7 separate regions of the Homo sapiens genome follow, and regions 2, 3, 4, 5, 6 and 7 are each linked to region 1. The links are contacts of gene promoters, found by promoter capture Hi-C in blood cells and fetal thymus (Javierre and others, 2016). All regions are on one chromosome and are shown on one strand. Each heading gives the region's core, a stretch centred on a gene start or on the middle of the fragment in contact. The rest is flanking DNA. Distances are from core to core; before and after follow the strand shown.

What was found. The method cuts DNA at HindIII sites, captures the fragments that hold promoters and counts their contacts. A CHiCAGO score of 5 or more calls a contact.
Region 2: a fragment that was not itself captured here is called in contact with the fragment with the promoter of GPR61 in region 1 in 1 of 17 cell types (total B cells); the score reaches 6.0 in total B cells.
Region 3: a contact is called between a fragment that was not itself captured here and the fragment with the promoter of GPR61 in region 1, in 9 of 17 cell types (erythroblasts, M0 macrophages, M1 macrophages and 6 more). The highest score is 8.2, in erythroblasts.
Region 4: a contact is called between a fragment that was not itself captured here and the fragment with the promoter of GPR61 in region 1, in 17 of 17 cell types (erythroblasts, neutrophils, M1 macrophages and 14 more). The highest score is 12.4, in erythroblasts.
Region 5: the fragment with the promoter of AHCYL1 here is called in contact with the fragment with the promoter of GPR61 in region 1 in 17 of 17 cell types (naive CD4 T cells, erythroblasts, total CD4 T cells and 14 more); the score reaches 14.6 in naive CD4 T cells.
Region 6: a contact is called between a fragment that was not itself captured here and the fragment with the promoter of GPR61 in region 1, in 5 of 17 cell types (M2 macrophages, activated CD4 T cells, monocytes and 2 more). The highest score is 6.3, in M2 macrophages.
Region 7: a contact is called between a fragment that was not itself captured here and the fragment with the promoter of GPR61 in region 1, in 8 of 17 cell types (total CD8 T cells, M2 macrophages, M0 macrophages and 5 more). The highest score is 7.0, in total CD8 T cells.

Annotation. Positions count from the first base shown.
Region 1 is chr1:109,538,440-109,541,664 of GRCh38, forward strand. GPR61 (G protein-coupled receptor 61) reads left to right here and starts at 1,433. Exons shown (of 2, transcript NM_001393907.1): 1 at 1,433-1,514. RefSeq lists enhancers at 946-1,447, 1,448-1,947. The HindIII fragment of the contact is 3,019 bases long and covers 1-2,389 here.
Region 2 is chr1:110,040,327-110,043,551 of GRCh38, forward strand. It overlaps STRIP1 (striatin interacting protein 1), which reads left to right. Exons shown (of 21, transcript NM_033088.4): 6 at 309-377; 7 at 1,210-1,316; 8 at 1,408-1,535; 9 at 2,762-2,944. Among named protein-coding and RNA genes, the nearest start is that of STRIP1, 7.3 kb to the left of the region's middle. The HindIII fragment of the contact is 1,300 bases long and covers 1,046-2,345 here.
Region 3 is chr1:110,021,927-110,025,151 of GRCh38, forward strand. AHCYL1 (adenosylhomocysteinase like 1) reads left to right here. Exons shown (of 17, transcript NM_006621.7): 17 at 1-1,816. Among named protein-coding and RNA genes, the nearest start is that of STRIP1, 11 kb to the right of the region's middle. The HindIII fragment of the contact is 837 bases long and covers 1,294-2,130 here.
Region 4 is chr1:109,999,484-110,002,708 of GRCh38, forward strand. All of the region lies in intron 1 of AHCYL1 (adenosylhomocysteinase like 1), which reads left to right. Among named protein-coding and RNA genes, the nearest start is that of AHCYL1, 16 kb to the left of the region's middle. The HindIII fragment of the contact is 1,198 bases long and covers 1,129-2,326 here.
Region 5 is chr1:109,983,110-109,986,334 of GRCh38, forward strand. It overlaps AHCYL1 (adenosylhomocysteinase like 1), which reads left to right and starts at 1,656. Exons shown (of 17, transcript NM_006621.7): 1 at 1,656-2,063. The coding sequence starts at 1,944. RefSeq lists silencers at 1,882-1,951, 2,132-2,201. The HindIII fragment of the contact is 11,948 bases long and covers 1-3,225 here.
Region 6 is chr1:109,960,669-109,963,893 of GRCh38, forward strand. No RefSeq gene overlaps it. Among named protein-coding and RNA genes, the nearest start is that of AHCYL1, 22 kb to the right of the region's middle. RefSeq lists an enhancer at 1-292. The HindIII fragment of the contact is 7,765 bases long and covers 1-3,225 here.
Region 7 is chr1:109,225,060-109,228,284 of GRCh38, forward strand. The region is part of intron 2 of SARS1 (seryl-tRNA synthetase 1); the gene reads left to right. Among named protein-coding and RNA genes, the nearest start is that of SARS1, 13 kb to the left of the region's middle. RefSeq lists enhancers at 315-999, 1,000-1,684. The HindIII fragment of the contact is 7,808 bases long and covers 1-3,225 here.

The DNA.
Region 1 (3,225 bases), core at 183-2,682:
AATAGGGCAAGTCATGGCTGCCTCATAGATTGGTGTGGGGATCAAAGAAACTGTATGTAAAGGGCCTGGCACTCATAACAGCTCAAAAAGTGGTGGCTGGTGACAGCGGCACTTGCTGCATCGGCTCTTGGTTTGTCAGTGGCCTCTTTGTTTTTGACCTGGGGCTTGGGGCAGCCAACTTGTCCCAGTGAGGTCCTTGGGTAACTCATTGTTCTTATGGCTCTTTGGGTTGGGTCTGGTAAACAATTCCAGAATTCCCTTTTTCCTTCTTAGAGGCAGAAGGAGTCCCTAGATAGGCAAGTCTCAGGGAAGCAGGCTCTGGAGTAGGGGATCATGCCTGAATTCCCTGTTTAGACTCATGGCTCTGCCATGTGGAGCTATGTGGCTTTGAGCAATCTCTTTATCTCTCTGGGTCTCAGAAACATGGATACCTTGGCCTGTAGGATGTCCTACAGCTTTGCAATGTTAGGATTCTATCCTTGGGTATCAGTCATGTACCCGGGTAAATGATCATTTTCTTCATAGCTAGAGGGAGGCCATGCCCCTTCATTGCGTCTCTGAAGGCCCATCATGCCACAGATGGGCGATGCTCAGTGGCTGATGCTACCTAGCTCTGTCCAGTCCCACAAATCCAGATCAGTGTGAGCATTCCTGAGTCCCTGGCCCCCACTCTGTCTCCTTCAGGAAGCAGTGTTGTGGTGGTTCCCATGGTGGCTCGGGGGGATGTTAGATCCTCCCGCCCCCTCCCTGCCAATCTCCATCAGCCCTCACAGCCCCAGTTCCAATAAACATACAATCTAAGCAAATAATAATAATGTGCTTTTGGGAGGCAAGGGCAGGGTTAAGACAAAGCCTTCAGCTGCCCTTCAAACCTGAGTGCTGCTCCTAAACCTGTCCCCCATACGCATTAGGCAGCTTCCAAAGGGGCCAAACCTTGGACCATCCCCTGGAGCCTCAGCCGCCTCCCTGGCCTAAGCCTTGGGGCCCTGGGTCTGCGCTGACCTGCCTGCATCAGCACCTTGGTTCTGATGTCACACAGAACCATGCATCTCTCCTATCTTCTCTTTGAACTGCTAAGAAATCAAGGCCAAAATGCAACTTGCCCAAGGTCACACGGCTAGTAAGTGCCATAGCCAGGCCTTAAACCTGGATTTTCTGACTCCATGTACTTTTTTTTTTACTTCATCAGGCTGGTCAAGAGGGTCTCCCCTACCTATCATTTCCTGGCCCCACGAAATTTTTGAGACGCAATCCAGCAGCCTGAGAGAAGTGAGAGGAGTTGAGCTCACTGCCAGGCACCTTGCCTGGGGCATTGGTGCCCACCTTTTTGCTCCAGAAGTGACTCTGAGGGGCTGGGTGGGAAGCAGGAGGCCATTAGGACCCAGAGGCTCTCGGAGCACTCTGCTTTGCCGGCTGCCTCTCACCGCTCACTGCAGTGCTTCAGGCTTCAGCAGCCTTGGAGAAGCATCAGCTGAGAGGAGCTATCACATGGGAGCCGGGACTGCTCAGCAAAGGTAGGAGTTGCCGACTAGGCCAGGAATGGGGGCCAGACCCAGAGCCTGGTGGTGAGTGCCAAGGTATCCCCACAGAAGGGTGGCTTTCCAAGGACCAGCCCTGCCTACATTCCGGTGAGCAGTTTGATCAGGAGATGGGCTCTCAGGTATCCCAAAGGCGGTATTGGGGTGTGGGCATCTCTGAAGCCCAGAGCTGGGGGGTTGATCATCTCCTGCCGGCAGGAGTACCCACATCCTGCAGACAAACAGCATTCTCCATCTGTCTTGCTCCATGTCATGGACATGGGTCTCCCACATTCTAGGAATGGGCCCTTCAGCATACAGGCTGATGGGCAACTGTGTCCTGGGCGTGGGCAACTCTGCTGAGGAGAGGTGTTGTAGCTCCCTGGAAATCTTCCCTAGCTTAGGAGGGGCACGCTCTTGTCTGAAGGAAGGCCAGGCTCAGGTCTTTGGGATGGAAGCTCTGGATCTGGAAAACAGGTGCATGTGAATCCCAATACCTCTGTGGCCTTGGGCTGGGCACTTATGCACATCTTGCATCCTGTAACTTGACCATGCCCCTGCTAGAGGCCCAGACCTCAGGCCCTAGTGGCAAAGCCTTCTAGGTACTGAAGGTCCTGGAGGTAAGAGGGGTGCTGTTGGAAGTAAGTAGTGGGGGAAGGAAAGCATCTGTTGGGGGAGTAGGCATAATGATATGACCTGGGAGAGGAGTGAGGCTCCCTGGGTTTCACCTATGAAACTGTTACACCACAGCCCTCCCCTCCATAACCCCAGTCCATTAGTGAGGGAGTGCCCATTAGCCAGATACACTGATCTGTCTGTTAAGAGGTAAATTGGAATCCTGGCATTTAGGAGTCACTGTGGAGACACTGGCAAGCTTGAGGGAGCTATGAAAAAGAGCAATGTCCAATGCCTTCTTGCTCAGGGCTCCATCATGGCTTCGTGGCATCCCTCCAGCTCCACGTGGAAACCAGGTCTGCTTCCCTCCGTCTGGGACTCTTGATGTCCATCCAGACATGGTGGGCCTCTCCTCCTTCAGCCACCAGGGAGGGACTCTGAACCACATCCTCTGGGCCTCACTCACAGACAGAAGGGATAGGTAAATCAGAGCATGGAGAGTAAGAAGGAAGGATGCTTCTCCTAGCATTTCTTTCAGGCATTTTTCCTGGTAGACTCTAATGAGAAGCTGATGTCTCACTTTTGTGCCCGCTCTTCAACTTCTCTGCAGACTCTAAGTCTCTGTGGGCATCTTAACTGTGAAATGAGCTTTCTGTGTCCCTAGAGAGAGGCACGTCTCTAGGCAGTTGCCCAAAGTTAGGGCTTCCTCAAGTCCAGGAACCCCGGCTACCCTTTCCACAAGAGAGTCCCTTGGCTGGCACACAGCTGGCTGACTGAGTGTTCTTGGAGTTTGTCCTAGGGGGCAGGGATTCAACTACCAATTTGAGTTTGATTCAATTCACAAAATTGTATTCAGCACCTATTGCATGCATAGCATGTTAGAAGTTGGATTGGTGTAAGGTTTATGGAAACACCAAAAACCAAAGGTGACTGTAAGGCTATAACTGTGGAGGAGAGTGGGGCCCATCTTGCCATGTGATCCTCTTTATTGCAGCCATAGAAATGATGGGTTTTTAAACTGAGCAACCTCAGTGTCTCCTCCCTACTTCTTGTTCTGTGACTGTAGTAAGTCTAGAACCAATGCGGCTCTTGG
Region 2 (3,225 bases), core at 446-2,945, 500 kb after region 1:
GCCTGCCACCACACCCAGCTAATTTTTGTATTTTTAGTAGAGATGGGGTTTCGCCATGTTGGCCAGGCTGGTCTCAAACTCTTGACCTCAGGTGATCCACCCGCCTCGGCCTCCCGAAGTACTGGGATTACAGGCATGAGCCACCATGCCCAGCCATGGTCTGGTTTCTTAACCACCGTGTCCTGTGGCCTCTTGTGCAGTCCAAGCACGTATCACAGCATTTTGTTTCCCCATTGGTCAGTACTTGTCAGGGACATCACTTATCTTCCTTCTTGGAGGAAGATGCTGACTCTCAAAATCTCCTGCAGCAACAGTGCCGCCTGCAGCAGTGCTGTGAGGAAGCCTGCCATCTCCCTGGCTGACAGCACAGACCTCAGGTGAGGCGAGCAGCAAGCCTGGGCTCCTGAGCGTTAGTCAGAGATGAGATCAGAGCAGGGTGTGGGAGGCTGTCTGTGGGTGTCATTGCTGTGTGTGCTTCTGTACACATCATCTGCATGTGTGATGGGCTCAGTGTGAATGATTAGTAGGAACTGCTGAGGGCTCGTCCTAGGTGGGACTCTGGGTTGAGACTCCCAAAGGCAATCCAGGGTCAAGTGACTTACTAGAGCCACAGCTAAGTGTGGCCTCCTACTCACACTGTTACTCAGGACCTGGTCGTGGGGTATTTTGTATTTGGATGAAACACTTGATGGTGTTCCCTGGACTCCCACCTTCTTGTGTACACAGCTTGATGCTCATCTTCATTGGGTTAGACCTGACAGCTTCCTAATGTTTCATGGCTGCCCAGGAGCTCACAGCAACTGCTGACCACCAAGATCACCCCTCAGTTTTTGAGGGTTGAAATCTGGCTCTTTTTATGAATTTGGAAGTTTTTAGACTAGGTGGTTGTAGTGTTGCCTCCCGGGTGTTAGGATCCCTGGGCGTCACCTCTCAGCTCCTGCTTTCCATTTCCTCATCATAAACCCTGTTTTTGTTCTCACTGTGACCCTGTTCTGCTTTGACCCTACAGCTCGCTACCACCTCTGTGGTTTTTTTCTTTTCAGGAAGCTTAGGGTGGTAAATGCTTTTGGCCATTCTTGTTCATACTCATTTATTCAGATACCATTTATTAATAGTAAGCCCCTGCTTTGTGTAAGCACTTTGTTAGACACTAGGGTGCTCCTTTGACCCCCCCATCCCACTCCATTGTGAGCTGGCTCTTGTCCTCAGGGTCCTGCTCAACATCATGTACCTGATAGTGGAGACCGTTCATCAGGAGTGTGAGGGTGACAAGGCTGAGTGGAGGACCATGCGGCAGACCTTCAGAGCCGAGCTGGGTAGGACCCTGGGGATCCTCTCTAGAGGCCCTGCCTGGAAGCTGAGGCGGAAGGCTTTGGGAGGGTCCTGATACCTTTGTGTCACCTCCAGGCTCCCCGCTGTACAACAATGAGCCATTTGCCATCATGCTGTTTGGGATGGTGACCAAATTTTGCAGTGGTCACGCCCCTCACTTTCCCATGAAGAAAGTTCTCTTGCTGCTCTGGAAGACAGTATTGGTGAGCACCTCCTTGGAGGAGGAGAACGGTGCTATGGGATGGGCAGTAGGGAGACTGTTCCTTGAATATCCTTTTGAATATTGAATTATGTGACTGTAAAACTGCTTTGGTAAAAAAAATTATTTAAAAAGCTGCTAAAAGGAGATGACAAAAGAAGGGCCACTATTGTCCCATTGCAGCCAACGAGGACATAGGCCTTGAGTCAGAGTAGGCTGTTGGCTCTCTGACCCCGGAAGCTGTTTTCTGTCATAGAACAGCTCTCCCCCAGACAAGTTGCCTCTCAGCAAGCAGCTCTGGACCTGGAGTTTGTAAAGGGATTTGAGGCAAAGTTACAGCTGATGTAATTGGGGCCCTGGTTGGATATCACTTAAAGGGGCAAGAGTGAGCCCTGAGCCAGCCTCCATTTTCTTCAGGGTATGGTGTCAGCCCGACTCTGTGTCTAGGTAGGGAGGGACTGGGTGCCAGAGTGGGCCGTCCAGCACACTGGGCTTGGAGCGTTGTTAGCAGCCAGGCCATGCCAGGAGGCCTTCCCAGGAGGAGTGACATGGGGAGGCGGTGGAGGTGAGTTGGGCCTCTGCTACACTGGGGCTCATCCTTCCTTTCAGAATGGGTCAACTCTGGAGCCAGGGCTCAGTAAGTATAGGATTTCTTAAAAGTCATTGACACATTTTATCTTGGCCACACATTCTGTTCTTCATAAAGCCTTGCTAAGGCTAGAGAGGAAAGCTGAATTGCTCAGAAACAGTAAAACTAAGCAGTCTAAAGCTGGATGTTGCTGGCGTTTCTGCTTCTTGGGAGATGTTTAGATGAAGCTTTTTTTCTTCTTCTAAAGTTGAGCAACCAACAGTATTTCTAATTTGACTTTGAAAGACTTGCATGTACAACTTGTGAAACATGAGTCTCACCAACTTTTCTAGGAACTTGCAGGGTTAGGCTCTTTGCTTCTTTTTAAATTGAAGAGTATGTCATAGGTGCAGAGTTAGTGTATCTGCACTAGGGTCAGTCAGCCTGCATCTCCACTCTTTCCTTGTTCCTTTTTCTCCTTTCCCTTGCGGATGTCACGGAATTCTCCTTGGGAGTGGCTTCAGTCCATTGTTCAGGAGTTGCCTGGGTCTCTATAAAGACATGGGTCATGATGTCATGAATGTTTCTGAGCCTGACACAATGGTCAGGGGCCAGCCTGTGGACACATTGACCCTGGCTCTGCTTCCCTGTCTGTGATGCAGTGCACGCTAGGCGGCTTTGAGGAGCTGCAGAGCATGAAGGCTGAGAAGCGCAGCATCCTGGGCCTCCCCCCGCTTCCTGAGGACAGCATCAAAGTGATTCGCAACATGAGAGCAGCCTCTCCACCAGCATCTGCTTCAGACTTGATTGAGCAGCAGCAGAAACGGGGCCGCCGAGAGCACAAGGTGAGGACGACAGAGGTCCCTGTGACTCCTGAGGGCCCTCAAGGTGCATGCTTGCAGCAGCACAGTCCTTGGAGGAGCAGGGCTGCTGGAAATGATCTCTGATCAGCCAGTCAGAATCATGCCTCCACAGCGAGGATACTTTGTCCCCAGCTCTGGTCCAGTGTATGGTGAGTGCTCAGCACGTGGTGCTTTTGAGGGACTGGAGCAAGAAGTAGTTGATGGTTTGGCCCCCGTCTTGACTCCCACTGTGGTTTTTCCACTGTTCTTGCCTCTACTGGACA
Region 3 (3,225 bases), core at 462-2,961, 480 kb after region 1:
CCAGAAAGGTGATTCTTTCTTTACCATTTCTGGGGACTTTAGTCTTAATTAGGTACCTTATTAACAGGAAATGCTAAGGTACCTTCTCTGTGGAACAATCTGCAATGTCTAAATCGCCTTAAAAGAGCCCATTTCTTAGCTGCTGAAATCAGTGCTCTTTCACTTCTTCAGAGAAGCAGGGATGGTACCTACCCGGCAGGTAGGTTAGATGTGGGTGGTGCATGTTAATTTCCCTTAGAAGTTCCAAGCCCTGTTTCCTGCGTAAAGGTGGTATGTCCAGTTCAGAGATGTGTATAATGAGCATGGCTTGTTAAGATCAGGAGGCCCACTTGGATTTATAGTATAGCCCTTCCTCCACTCCCACCAGACTTGCTCATTTTTCGAGTTTTTAACTAGACTACACTCTATTGAGTTTAATTTTGTCCTCTAGGATTTATTTCTGTTGTCCAAAAAAAAAAAAAAAGAAAAGAAAAATTAAGGAGAATTTTTGGTGTTAATGCTGAGGAATTGCTTGAGTGGTTAGTTGTTACCAATTTCTCTTTTGAACCTTTGGAGCTAAGGATGCTGAGTCTAGAGAAATGCTAGTCTCAAGCCCTGTTAAGTCCCTCTGTTTCTAGCCCGTAGTTCATAGCATCAGTGAACTGGAGCCACAACAGCAAATTCTATCAGCTGTGTACCATACAGCTTGTGCTGAAGGCGAATTTCTTGAGCCATTACTCAGTATAAAGCACTGAGTTCTATCTTTAGGATTTATCTTTAAGAGCAAATTTCTGGTCAGCTGTGCTTCTGCAACCTAAAATATTTAAAGGGAGGTAGGTGTGGGCAGGAGGAGGAATGATAAATTGGGCCAGGGCAAGAAAAATCTAGCTTCATATAATTTGTCTGGGACTATACACCCTATATAATGTTAGTTTTACAGAAGTAATATGACTTTTGATTGCTACATACCACAAAGAGTTTATGAACTGAGATCATAAAGGGCAACTGATGTGTGAAGAAAGTAGTCAGTACATCCTGGCTCATGCTCTGAAAGAATATCCAGAGAGGCTCTCTCAAAGATCAGGGAGATGTATTCCCATGCCATGCACCCTGCTTCCCAGCATTTCTGCATGGTCAAGTGAGCTTTATGCTCATGAGCTTTAAGTATATAATTATCCAGGATTTTAAATCCTCAACTTGTTCTAGCTTGTGATCCCTCAAAGTTGGGTCATACGTTAGTGCTAGATACTAGAAATTTTCACTTTTCCACTGATCAGAGAGACAGACATTAAAAACAAAAATAGAAGAAAGGAAAGCTTTCACCCTGCAGCTTCTTAGCAGGGAACAATTGTCTTGCCAAAACTTTTTTCCCTTTTCTCTCCCATTTTCTTTTACCCAATCCCTTCTTACTCCTTGCCAGTGTGACCATGCTTTCTTCTCTGTAGATGTTAACAGTTAAGGCCTATTTTCCTCGGGCACTTAACCAACCAATCAGAACACCACATCTGTTAGGGGAGGTAACCTGGCCAACAGTGTATCCATCACGTTAGCCCTGCTGGAGGGAAGGGACCCACATTCACCTGCCCTCTGACCTGCCCCTTGATCCCATATCTATTACCGTGTCCATAGGAATAATAGGTAAGGGCTCTGTCTCTGTCAAGCCATGTAACAAAGGACACTGTTAAAAAAAAAAAAAAGTCTGGCATCAGAGGGAGCATGTGGAGAGCAACTTGGGAAGAACAAGTTCATTTTGTATTGAATGATTTTTAATGAATGCAATATTAATCCTTGCAGATGAGCAATAATCATTAAAATCGATTAAAATGATAAGACCTTATTGGCAGTCCGTATGTGTCATTCTTTGTTAAACAGCAAAACTTCATTAGAACCTGTTTTCTAGGGTGTGACAAGTTATAGGTCAGTAGCATTTAATAGAGATTTGTTGAGGGCCTAATATATAGAGGCTGGATACAGGATTCTTCAAAGTAATACCTGAAGTTTTGTATGCCTGCTCTGTGCCAAGCACCGGGCCTGGGTACTTTCACTCCTAACTTCCTTCAGGAAGCAGACTTGCTGCTTAAGCCTCAGGGTTCCTCATTTGCATAGTCCTTCTAAGACCTAATTTCTGAAGAATGCCCCCAAAGTTATGTAAGCTTCAGCCTCCTCCCACACCTGTATCCATTTCTGAAGTGGTCTCAGTGTCTTTTTTTTTTTTTTTTCTCTTTATTTTTTTGAGACAAGGTCTCACTGTCACCCAGGTTGGAGTGCAGTGGCTTGATCTCAGCTCACTGCAACTTCTGCCTTCCGGGCTCAAGTGATCCTCCCACCTCAACCTCCCAAGTAGCTGGGACCACAGTGTCAGCTAATTGTTTGTATTTTTGGTAGAGATGGGGTTTCGCCATGAAATCTAGGCTGATCTCAAACTCCTGGGCTCAAGTGATCCTCCTGCCTCTGCCTCCCAAAGTGCTGGGATTACTGGCCAGTGTCTTCTGATGTAAGAAAGTATTTATCTTGGTCAGTTTCTGCTGCTCCAGCAAAATCCTGAGACTGAGTAATTTATAAAGAACAGAAATTGATATTCTCACAGTTGGAGGCTGGGAAGTCCAAGGTCAAGTCGTTGGCAGATTTGGTGTCTGAAGAGGGCTGCTGCCTGCTTCCAAGATGGTACCTCTTATGCATCCTCATATAGCAGAAGGTAGAAGGGCAAAAAGGACCTAACTATTACCTCATATATGCCAAAGTCTGTTTTAGATACTGGGGATACATCAGTTTAAATCAGATGATCTCTTCCTTTGTGGTGTTTACGTAAAATTCCAACAAGATCCAAATTCCTTCCCTTTTTCCTTTACCCACAATTTGGCCATTAGGTAAGACAGAGCAAGCTAGGGATTCATGTGGATTTGCAGCCTGTGAGTGTGGGTGGTATCCTTGTGGGAACTGGGGATGTAGCTTGGTACAAGGAGTCAGATCCCAAGTGGCGTGGGGAATGCATCTATGCAGGGGATGAATGGCAATGGCAGATTAGTTAGGGATAAGGGATTTGATCACTGTACGTGAAAATATTAAGGGTAGCGGAAGCCAGCTGTCTCATTTTGGAGGAAGGTGTTACACATTGGAAAGGGAAAACACTAGAATGAACTCTGCTGTTGGGTTTGAATAGGAGATGATAGTGTGAAGTCATAAATATCAACCTAGTTAAAGAAATACAGATGTCAATGTACGTGTGTGTGTGTGTACAAACACTCC
Region 4 (3,225 bases), core at 478-2,977, 460 kb after region 1:
CATGAGTTTGGCTTTTTTAGATTGCACATAAAAGTGAGATTATTTAATTGATTACTTTAAATAAATATCTACCATAACTATGAAACCAAGATTCAGTAATCAGATATCATGTTACTTAAATCCAGAATACTTCAATAAAAATAATAGCCTTACAAGAACTTTTGTTAGTTGTAGTAGTCAGAAAGGTGGTACCAGAAAGTAGAAATACATCAATGGTAAAATTTTTTTTTTTTTTAACCTGAGGTCTTCAAATTTAATACAACATTTATTTTATTTTTATTTTTATTTTTTGGAGACAGGGTCTTGCTCTGTTGCCCTGGAGTACACTGGCACAGTCACAGCTCACTGCAGCCTCGACCTCCCAGGCTTGGTTTATAAATGTGAGCCACTGCACCTGGCCAAATATAACTCTTTTTCTGTTGGTGGAATTCAGCTGTGCTAGATCTTTTAGACATAAGACTTGGAAAGGGTGCTTTTTGAGTGGCACACCACAGATGAGAAAGGAACCTAATGGAATGTTTTTAGTTTAAAAGAAATTATCTGATTGTGCTAAGTGTTCATGTGTGAAAGAAATATTCCTCCAGCACCATTCAGCACAGGATAAACCTCTTCAAAAAGCACATTTAAAGTATATTCTCTGTTGCATGTTTTAGAATATGGTAACTTCTCATGAAATAACCAGCGAATTTCCCCAGTGACCAAAAGAGGAAAAAGAAAAAATCAGTGGCCAATTTGACCATACTAAACTAAAAATTTTGCTTAAACGCAGGTGGAAATCATACAAATAGGGAATTCTGAATTAATTTCTTTTGTCCTAGTAAAGTAGTCTAGATTAGATTGCCCATACATTCTCCTCCTTACTCCATCCCCAGAAGACAATGGAAGTGTATTCTAGAATGGAACATTTTGTTACCACAGTGTTTGGGCTCTGCTATTACTGGGCTCTCCTCACCCTTTCCAGATCTATGGAGCAGTACTTTTCAATGGCAATTTGTTGGCAACGTAAAAACATTACATTTCTTTGCATCATTTTACTTTTCTGAAAATTAATAAAGGTTTTTGGAACTTAAAGAATTATTTTCCTTTACCAGTGCTTACAAATCTTTATCTGGTGTTATAAGCTCAGAAAGCTTATAGTGCAACAGTAGACCACTCCAAGGTAAACTGACCCCTTGGAAATAAAGGGGAAAGCTGCTGTTTCCCCAGCCTATTCCAAAAGAAGGAAAATAGAACTGGGCTTATGGGTGTTTTTTGTTTTTGTTCTTTTTTTTTTTTGCTTTTTGCTTTTTAAACCTCAGTGTTGGTAGCAAATTGCCTTAAGCAAGTCACTTAGCCCCAACCCCTGTTCTGTTTTCTCATTTGTGAAGCATAGATGCAACATTGAAAGGATTCTAGAATGTTTTGAAAATACAAACCCTCTGTAAACTGTAAGCCACAGGTGTTGAGGCAAAGCACTTAAAGTCATATAAATCTAGGCATTCAGGATCTTGGTGTCCACCCTACTAGTAAGTGGGATTTCAAACTTCCTGTACAATCAACTTTAAGTAAAAATCTTCATGTAGTGCTATCAGGTGGTGTTACCAGTGATGCTTGTTCTTTGTATGCCAAGAGTTCAACAAAAATGGTTTGTAAAATATTTAGATCAGTGATATTCTAGCAGTGATATATATTGACAAAATTTGCCAATATTTTGCTATACAAAATTAATTTTTTTTTTTTTTGAGACGGAGTCTCGCTCTGTTGCCCAGGCGGGAGTGCAGTGGCATGATCTCAGCTCACTGCAACCTCTGCCTCCCAGGTTCAAGCGATTCTCCTGCCTCAGCCTCCTGAGTAGCTGGGACTACAGGCACACGCCACCATGCCCGGCTAATTTTTGTAATTTTAGTAGAGATGGGTTTCACCATATTGGTCAGGCTGGTCTCAAACTCCTGACCTTAGGTGATCCACCCTGCTCGACCTCCCAAAGTGCTGGGATTACAGGCGTGAGCCACCACACCCGGCCTTGACAGCTTTTTATTTCCCTGAGCCTATACTAGTTGGTTCTTATACCCTATGAACCAATACAAAATGATTCCCAAGTGAAAAAAACAAGGTGCAGACTATATTATCATGCTACCTTTTGAGTAAGGGAGGGAAAATAATATGTATTCGCTTCCCACACTCCTAAAAAGAAACATAAAAAGGATAAACCAGAAACCAGTGAAAATGGGGAGGGACACGTAGAGTATCAGGGCTAGGAATAGCAGTGAAACTTCTCTGAGTGTACCTTTTAAAGTTTTGAGACATGTAAATGTTTTATATGTCAAAATCAAAGAGAAAAAAGGAAAGCTTTAAGTTCTTACAAACACAAAGGAATGAACCCAACTAAAATATAAAATCTTAACCTAATATATCAAATTGATTACTCAGTCACACAGAAAATAGTACTTTGATTATATATCTTTATGAAATATATTCTGAGGACGAGAAGAACTTCAATGAAACCTTGACACGTCACTCAGTAAATTTTGGTGCGTAATAACATTAGTCTTGTCATTTTGAAACTTTTGTATGCATTATAGAATAAACAAACATTAGAGACAAGACATACAATAGGAAAATTAAACTTTTTTTAAAAAAGGTAATACTAAATCTGAAGTAGAAATATCAATATGAACTCATAAGTAAAAGGATTGATTTCTCTCTCTACCAAAAGAACCTAGGAGTAGTGCATCTCTAATAGCAATTATCACACCTCTTACTCCAGGTATTAGCTTCTAAATACTACTCCCTTCTAAAAGAAAGGCTCCTGAGAGAAATGGTTGATTCCAGGTTTGGAGAAGAGGAAGAACAAGGTGAGCCTGGTATATCTTCTTTTGTCAAAAAGAGTGGAAGGACTGTAATGGAATCATGTCAAAGGACAGAAGAGCCAGCTTGAAGGAGGCTCCCACTGGCCCAATTTGAGACAATATGAGTATTCAGTGCAATTAATGTATAATTAAGTGTAATCTGTTAAATACATAAAAATCTGAATGACAAAGGGAGAAGATTTTTCTTTACAAAAGAATGCCAGCTAATGTGGAAGCATTGATAGAAAAATAGAAGTTGCGATTCTATAACCTTCCCAATATAATTGGTTCAGGCAAGGATTATTAACAGATGGTGAAGTCATTAGGGAATAGGATATTAACATGATGAAAAAAGTATTGCCCTACAAATTAACTTTTACTTGCAAAAGAGAAAATG
Region 5 (3,225 bases), core at 406-2,905, 440 kb after region 1:
CAGCACTTTGGGAGGCCGAGGCAGGTGGATCACGAGGTCAGGATCCGAGACCAGCCTGGCCAAGATGGTGAAACCCCGTCTCTACTAAAAATACAAAAATTAGCCGGGCACGGTGGCGCACGCCTATAGTCCCAGCTACTCACTCAGGAGGCTGAGGCAGGAGAATCACTTGAACCCGGCAGGCGGAGGTTGCAGTGAGCTGAGAGCACTCCAGCTTGGGCAACAGAGCGAGACGTCATCTCAAAAAAAAAAAAAAGGTGGTCCTGGGGAGGAATTTAGGGAAAGGGCACTGGGAAGACTGGAATTGCTCAGCACAGCAGAGGAGAATCTGGCTTCCCAGAGTCTATCAAGGAAGGAAGGATGAGGTGCAGAGATGGGAAGGGAGGAACAGGAGGAAGCTAGATTAGATGGCAATGGGCTAGGGAGCGTGGTGGGATCTTGTGGCCATTGAGAAATCCCCGGGTGGTAAGACAGCCAAAATAACTTTTCAGAACATTTCAGAAATGTGTTCTTAAATTGTTTGCTGTGTGATGTAATCTCTCCCCTGTGACCCACAAACCTTTATTAAAAGTTTTACTACATGTTACAGCCTTATTTTGTAGTTGTTTAGCATGGGGTGGGGGTTGAAAGGAGAAGCGGCTGAATTGACCCCAGGAGCTACAGAAACAGTCACAAGACCAGAATAGTGAATAAAATGCCAGACAAGGCAAAAAAACTAGAGCCAGAGGTGACCATGAAAATCCAAGTCCTCCCAGTAATGGACTTTCCACAGGACATGGTAATTGGAGCCAATGTCATTTGAATCTCAAAGGACAAGCTACCTCAGCTGACATTAGGATACAAGCAGGTTTTGCCTCTCCAGCTGAACTAAGCCTTGCAAAACATAAAATGCGTCACATGTCCTTTTGCCAGCAGGGCCTCAGCACAGGCACTGCACATAGTAGGCCCAGTAAAAGGGTGTGAGCAGTCCATGAATGTCCTGGATGCCCACTGAGAGCTGGAAGGGTCTAATGCTTTGGTGGAGCAAGGACCGGAAGGCCATTCTGGCTGGGGACTTCTCCATCAGCTCTCCTGGTCTCCACCCTCATACCCATCAGCCCTATCCCAATGAGGGTTTTGTAAACAGGCAAGGCCCAGTCGGAGATGGTGGTGGAGGAAGTCACAAAGCGTTGTGCAGAAACCAGACTACTCTGAGTCAGTTCTGCCCCCTATGAAGTCAAAAAGACAGGCACGGCCCCTTGGGAAGGAGCTTTAATCCAAAGGGCCTGGGGCTGGGCCAGTGAGTGAGTGGGCTGTCTCGAGCCCCGGACATTTCCTAGGAATCGCTGTAGGATGTGTCGTGTGGGGCTCTGGTCTTTGCTCCCAAACACCCCTTTCATGCGCCTCTGAGGCCTTGCCAGGAACCCCGCAGCCCAAAGACCCTCCGTTCCGCAGCATCGTTGCATGAACCTCGCGCTGCTCCCAGGGCTGATGGTGCCACCTGGTGGCACAAAGGGTCCTGCTCACCCTGGGAACTTCGCTCTCGAGCGGGAGAGGAACGGCTTCTGTGGCCCAGCCCAGCGTGGTGACGTCACGACAGAGTGCCCTTTCTCCCCGCCTCTTCCCCCTCCCGGGAGCTGCCAGTACTTGACGTGGCGTCACCGCCCTCTACCCTCGCTTTGCGTGCGTGTTTGCGTACAGCGGAGGTGGCGGCGCGGGCAGGTCGGAGCTCGGAGCTGCTGTTCTGGTTCTCTTGTGGCCGCCGTCGCTGTCCGGCTGCCTTGGGCTGCCGAACAGACAAGGCGTGGGCCACAGCACCTCAGAAGCCGACGCAGCTCGACGCAGGGGCCGGCAGGAGGGTGGGCGATCGCGTGTCGGAGGGCGCCGCGCGGGCAGGCGGGCGGGCGCCAGAGGGGGAAAGAGGCGGGGGCGGCGGGTCAGCCGCTGGCCGGGCCGGCCGGGGAATGTCGATGCCTGACGCGATGCCGCTGCCCGGGGTCGGGGAGGAGCTGAAGCAGGCCAAGGAGATCGAGGACGCCGAGAAGTACTCCTTCATGGCCACCGTCACCAAGGCGCCCAAGAAGGTGCGGGGGCTCTGGGTGGCGGCGGGGGCTCGGGCTCCGGCCTCGCGGAAGGGACGCGAGCAAGCCCGGGCTCTGGCTAGTTTGGGACTTCTGGGGGTGACTGGGGACGGCGGAGGTGATGTAGGGGGTGGCGGCTGTGCGGCCCCAGGCCTCTCCCGGGCTGAAAGGCCGCCTCTGACCTCGCTTTCCTTTGTCCCTCGGCCCAAGTCCTCCGGGATCGTTTTGAAACCCGACAGGGCCAGGCCTTAAATTTGCGACTGACTTTTCCTGGATGAAGGGCCTCGAAGACGAGAGTGGGAGGGGGTGAACCAACTCAGCTGACCCTTGTGACCAGTCCGGGGGCATGGGGTGTACAGAAAATCTCCCTTCAGGTGAGTGGGTAAATCTGGCAGAACTTCCATCAAATCTTTGGGAGCAGTGGCCGCTTTATCCAACAACTGCGTGATAGCTGGGAGGCAAGAGAAAAGAATGCGTGAAGCTAGCTCTGATATACAGGTGAAAGCGATGAGGGTAACATGAAACTGAAAATCTATGATTTTCACTTTCTACAGCATTCCAATTACTTCGAAATATGTAAGAAATTGACATTTGGAGGTTGGTGACAGCAGACACTGTCATGGATACAGGTGGATCCTAGAGTCATGTGAATAGATCACTTAGGCATCCCTGGAGAAAGGAGCTTGGGTGGGTTGGAGTAGTGGGTGGTAAGGGAAGATTGCTCACTCTTGACTGTACTTTTGAGGCAGAACAAGTTTGATCTATTGTGCTGTAGGTTGACTCAAAGGACACCCTTCGAATTCTCTCATAAATGGCAACCTTTGGAGATTTTAGTCTGACTAGCTCTCCGAGTGGTGGAATTGGGATCCTTATTGCTTTCTCATCATTTACTGCCAACCACATCTTGATTTTCCATACACCTGGCACCCAGTTAGCAGTAGACCAGAGAACCTTTACAAAGAGGTGACCTTCCTGAAGCCAGTGAGAACCCAGATAAATGTCTCCCTTCTTTATAAAGACAGAGTCTTACAAAGCTGTCTCTGCCTGCATCCAGTGTTTAATGGGATGCAGGGCTGAACAAAGCAAGGGCTGCAGGAATAGTTAAGTCCTTGAGGCTTCAACTAGTTAAGCTGTCTTAAGTGGGAGAGATGGCTCTTTTTTTTTT
Region 6 (3,225 bases), core at 429-2,928, 420 kb after region 1:
GGCATTCTGGGGAGAGAGAAGAGTTTGAACAAAGCTAAAAAGGAGGGAAAACCAGGAGTATGTATGGGATACACTGAATAGTCAAATTCAGGTGATAAAATCTGAAAGGTAGGAGGGAACTGATAAGTAGAGCTTTGAATGCGTGGCAAGGAGTTTGGACTTACTGAAACAGGCAAAAGGGAGCCAAAGAAGATTTTGAGCAAGTGATAAACATAATAAAAAATGCTTATTAGGCAAGTTAATATGCCAGCAGTTCCTAAATTGGACTGGGTTGAAGAATAACAATATAAAGCAGCCAGCAATGATTGAGTAGTTACTATGTACCCAGCACCATGCCAAACTCTTTGCATACATTTTCTCATTTAATGAAAGTAATAATTAATGCATTTAAGACTCAGTGTCTGGCCCATAATGTATTCCAACCCTCACAATCATCCTGTAAATTGAGTATTATTACCTCAGTTTTATAGGTGATGTCTATATTGGTCTGTTTGCTATTGCTTATAACAGAATACCTGAAACTGACTAACTTCTAAAGAAGTTTATTTCTTACAGTGATGGAGGCTAAGAAGTCCCAGGCTGAGGGGCTGCATCTGGCGAGTCTTCTTGCTGGTAGGGAGTCCCCAGGTAGTTCGGGGCACCCCATGGTGAGAGGCTGAGCAAGCTAATTAACTAATTAATTAACCATTTAATCCATTAATCCATGAATGAATTAATACACAAATGAGGGCACTGTTCACATCAAATGTTTGAGAGTTTTTTTTGTTTTTTTTTTTTCTTTTTTCTGTGTCTAAAGGGTTTTTATTTAAGAGCCTGTAGTGCTGAGTTCCACCAAGGATTTGGAAGGTCACTCTCAGCAGCAGCCACTTCTGCCAGGACCAGTGGTGAGCACCTGGCAGGGCCTTGCTGTTTCCACATAAGGCAAAGGAATCCAGCTTTTCTGTAGGATTTTTGCTGCAGCTGTTCAAAACCTTGTGTGAGCCAGCAGTTCCAGTTCAAAGGTTAAGAGGGCGCATAGCACCTAGGTGGCCAGGTTCCTGTAAGTCACCACTCAGGCCATAAGTCACCACGGAGGGGAGAGACAAAGCAGCCACAGCTGTTCTGTTTCCAGTCCCACCCCTCTGGCAAACAGATGGGGGGAAATGGAGAAGAAAAGTTCACAAAGTCGGTGAAATGGCCAGGCACGGTGGCTCACACCTGTAATCCCAGCACTTTGGGAGGCCAAGGCAGGTGGATCACCGGAGGTCAGGAGTTTGAGACCAGCCTGGCCAACATGATGAAACCCCATCTCTACTAAAAATACAAAAATCAGCTAGGCATAGTGGCAGCCTCCTGTAATCCCAGCCACTCGGGAGGCTGAGACAGGAGAATCGCTTGAACCCAGAGGTGGAGGTTGCAGTGAGCCAAGATCACGCCACTGCACTCCAGCCTGGGCGACAGAGTAAGACCCCACCGAAAAAAAAAAAAAGTAGGTGAAATGAAGAGGGCAGAGGAGCTGCAGGCAACTACTTGCAGGCCCCACCACACACCTGACAGTTCTGCCTTCAAGATCCAATCACCTCTTAAAGGCCCTACCTCTCAATACTGCCACAGTGGGGGTTAAATTTCAACACGAGTTTTGGAGGGGACCAATACTGAAACTATAGCACTGCCCAAGGTTCAAAGAGGTTAAGTATTTTATACCAAAGATCAAAGAGCTATACGTGGCAGAGCTAGGATTTAATCTCAGGTTGATCTGCCACCAAAGTTGACTCTTAAGACAGGGAAGTATTAGGAAGCAATTTCAAAAGTCCTGACAAGTGGTGATGGACTAGGGGAGGGCAGGGGGAAAAAGACAGGAAAACGGATGTACAACTAAGTTACAATTGCATAGCACACATGACATGGTAATTGAGAAATCTTTAGATAGAGAGAATGGTCAAAGATGACCCAAAGTTTCAAACATGAATGACCAACAGAAAGGTGGCACCAGACTGAAAATCCAGAACCTAAGAGGCAAAGTCAATTAAAGGGATTCTGAATATATTGAATTTGATGCGTTGATGATAACCATGTGGAGATAACTTGCTAACATTTGGAAAAATTTTATTATTCCTTATACTCTGTTCCTCATTTATAACTCCTCATTCTTTTATTTAAAAAATTTTAAGAACAACTGAAAAATCAACAGCTCTTCTTAGATCCTTCAGAGAAGTGAGGTCACGGGACAAATCACTGCCTCTAAAATTAGAGAGACAGATACAGAGAATTACAACTTAACCAAGGCAGAAACCCATGAGCAGAAACTTCTGTGGGAACCAGTATTAGGGTAGAACAACTTAAACTGTAATTGATAAATTGCTAGAGGCTCCATTGTGGACAAGTCTGAGAAATAAAAACTCCAGGGGGTCCCAGTCAGAGGGAGGCCTCACAAGTTTTTTGTGAGGTTTAGCTCCATGAGCTCTACCAGGTTCTCACAGAGAGTACTAGAGAAAAATCCCTTTATACTTCTAGGGAAAAGTAACCATTTTGAAATATGCCAGAGCATTCTGTTCTTCTGGACAAGGTCTGCCTTCAAGGGAAACGATTTTACCAGAGCCTAACCTAATGGGGTTTTATCAGCGCCTAAAACCAACTGGGGGGAAGAGAAATACCCAACTCCAGCCCACTGCAGCCATCGTGTCCCACATTGCAAGTTGAGGTGGATATTGAGAAGCACTGTGAAGTTTACAGCCCAGGGGCACAGGCTTACTAAAAAACTGAGACCTCATTATATAGAATGCTTATCCTCTCCCTACGTCTTAACTCCACACCACTAAGGACTGTTTGCCAGAGTTCCTTTTACCCAGTACATTGTATCTGGTGTGCAACAAAAAAAAGTGTAAGACATACTGAAAGTCAAAAAACATAGTTTAAAAAGACAGAGCAAGCATTATAACCAAGCTCAGGTATAGCAGGGATGTTGGAATTATCAGACCAGGATTTTAAAACAACTATGATTAATATATTAAGGCCTGTAATGGAAATAGTAGACGACATACAAGAACAAATGGGTAAGCAGAGGGATGGAGATTCTAAGAAAGAATTTTAATAATGCTAAAGATAAAAAAACACTGCAACAAAAAGGAAGAATGCCTTTGATGGGCTCATTAGCACACTAGACGTGGCTGAGGAATCTCTCAGATTGAGGATATGGCAATAGAAACTTCCAAAGAGAAAAGAGACTGAAAAAAAAAAAGGAAGAGA
Region 7 (3,225 bases), core at 312-2,811, 310 kb before region 1:
GCGCTACTGAGCTCCATCCAGCCTGGGTTTCCAGTGAAACCCTGTCTCCAAAATAAATAAATTAATTAATTAAATGCACTTTACAATCTAGATAACTTTTACATTGTAAACCTCAAAACTAAACAACAACAACAAAAAATTATAGAACTTTGGAACTGCACCAGTAAAGAGCATAAAAAGATGACCTCGGGATTCTAGCACCTTACACTTAACTTCATGGCAGTCGGCATCTTTCTCTTTGACAATATTTTGTTACACTTTCAGCGTGTAACACTTTTAGCTGTGGAAAGTGATATTGATAATCATCCAGTTTCTTTCTGTGGGACTTAGTCATTCGCATACTAGAGGCCCCATAATTATGTTAATTCCCATGCATACTCCTCCCTGGGTGTTCTTTGGGACCTATGTACAGTCAGTGCCAGCTGGGTATTTTTTGAAGCAAGAAGATGGGATTGTGAGTGTTGTCATTCACAATAACATTCTTAGATCTGATTTTGTTGCTAGCCATGCAGGGAGTGTTCACTCCCACTGCCATTGAAATGGTAATGATAGTGCTTTAATTTGTAGAGCACTCGAAAGCATTCAGATACTTTCACAGACATCTTATTTTGGTTTTGATCCTTACTGCAGAGCTGGAGTGCAGATAGTACATTTGTCAGCCCTATTTAATGGGTAAGGGAATCGGCTTAGGAAATTAAAGAGCTTGCTTAAAATCATATTCTAACTTAGTTGCAGAGTCAAACCTTGAGCTCAGAACTTGAATTTGCTGCCCTGAGGGATTATCAAATAGCAAGGGAGCCTGGTAACTATCTTGCAAACATATCACCCTGCCTATGATGCCATTGCAAAAATCTTGAGATTTAGTCCATTTTTTCCCTACCTCTGTAGTCTGTTCTTATCAAGACTCATTCTGATAGTTTCAGATTTTTCCAACTTTTTTTCTTTTTTTCTGAGACAAAGCCTCATTTTATTGCCCAGGCTGGAGCGCAGTGGCACAATCATGGCTCACTGCAGCCTCAACCTCCTGGGCTCAAGCAGCCCTCCTGCCTCAGCCTCCCTAGTAGCATGCCACCACACTCGGCTAATTTTTTTTTTTTTTTTTTTTGTTGAGATGGAGTCTCCCTGTGTTGCTACTGCACCTGGCCAGATTTTTCCAACTTTTTAAGATGATTTTGCTCTGAGTCACTGAAGGGTGTGAGTGGAGTTATGGTTAGAATTTTGATTGTATGAGAATGTGTAATGAACCTAAAGGATTTCCATGCTTTACATTTAGGAGATTTAGTCCTTTTGTTCTTTCTTTTTTTTTTTTTGACACAGTGTCTTGCTTTGTTGCCCAGGCTAGAGCGCAGTGGCGTGATCATAGCTCACTGCAGCCTCCAACTCCTTGGCTCAAGCAGTCCTCCCACCTCAGCCTCTCAAGTAACTAGGACTATAGACACATGTCACTGTGCCTGGCTAATTTTTTAAAAAGTCACCCAGGCTGGAGTGCAGTGGCACAAGCATAGCTCACCACAGCCTCTAATACCTGGGCTCAAGCAGTCCCCCCGCCTCAGCCTCCCAAGTAGCTGAGACTACAGGTGTACTCCACTATGCCTGGCTAATTTAAAAAAAAAAAAAAATATATATATATATATATATACACACACACACACACACACACACACACACATATATATATATTTATTTATTTATTTATTTATTTATATTTAGATATGGGGTCTCACTCTGCTGCCCAGGCTGGTCTTGAACTCCTGGGCTAAAGTGATCTGCCCACCTCAGCCTACCATGTAGCTGGGATTACAGTTGCAAGCCACTGTACCTGGCTATACTTTGTTTTATTTATACTCACAAAGCGGATGCTAAATATTCTTATGCAAGTTTTGTTGAAGTCTCATGTATCTTATTATAATGACCTTTGACTAACTTTCTTTAACTCTTTTTTTTTTTTTTTTTTGAGACAGAGTCTTACTCTGTCACCCAGGCTGGAGTGCAGTGGTGTGATCTCAGCTCACTGCAACCTCTGCCCCCAAGTTCAAGCAAGTCTCCTGCTTCAGCCTCCCGAGTAGTTGGGATTACAGGTGTCTGCTACCGCGCCTGCCTAATTTTTGTATTTTTAGTAGAGACGGGGTTTCACCATCTTGGTCAGGCTGATCTTGAACTCCTGACCTCGTGATCCACCCACCTCAGCCTCCCAAAGTGCTGGGATTACAGGCATGAGCCACCGTGCCCTGCCAACTCTTTTTAATTTAAGAAGAATTTAACTCTTTAAGTGATCTTTTTAAATTCACCTGGTTTTGTGCAAGGATTACAAATGATGATTTAGCAGAATTATCATACGGAAGGATGAGAAGAGAAACTAGAGAGAACGAAATCCAACCCTGGTTACACCCCTGCCATTTTGTCAAATTACATTGATTGTTCTAAACTGAGTTCCAGATCCTGTGACTTTTTGTTTGTTTGTTTTCCTTGGCTGTCTGATATTTCATCATTCCATCCATCTTTCACCCTTAGCCTCAATGCTGGGATTGTTGTTAGCAGGTAGATAAGAATCTACACTCGGGGCCGGGTGCAGTGGCTCACGCCTATAATCCCAGCACTTTGGGAGGCCAAGGTGGGGGATCACTTAAGGCCAGGAGTTTGAGATCACCCTATCCAACAGAGTGAAACCCTATCTCTATTAAAAATACAAAAAAAAAAAAGGAAAAAAAAATTAGCCAGACGTGGTGGTGCACTCCTGTAATCCCAGCTGCTTGGGAGGCTGAGGCAGGAGAATCACTTGAAACCGGAAGGCGGAGCTTGCAGTGAGCCCAGATCACGCAAACTGTACTCTAGCCTGGGCGACAGAGTGAGACTCCGTCAAAAAAAAAAAAAAAAAAGAATCCACACTCAGGTGTGTCTGCTCCAGGGCTTGCTCCTGAGCACTGCACTACCTCTCCAGCGCTTATAGCTCATGAGCATTTCGAATAAATTCTCTTCTGATTCCTATGATGATCTATGTACAGGGAATGACATTCTTCTCATATTCTTCAGGATGTTAATTCTCTGACCCAGACAGATTAATTGATTTTAGGATCAAAAAGCTATTAAGTGGCAGCATAGGGAGGGGCTTGACACTTTGACTTCTGGCTTCCAGTGTACTAATTTTTTTCCTACATGTTGTATCTTTTAGAAAAATTTATGTAAGAAGTTCTGTGATTCATTTATATAATACGTTAATTTGGTGTA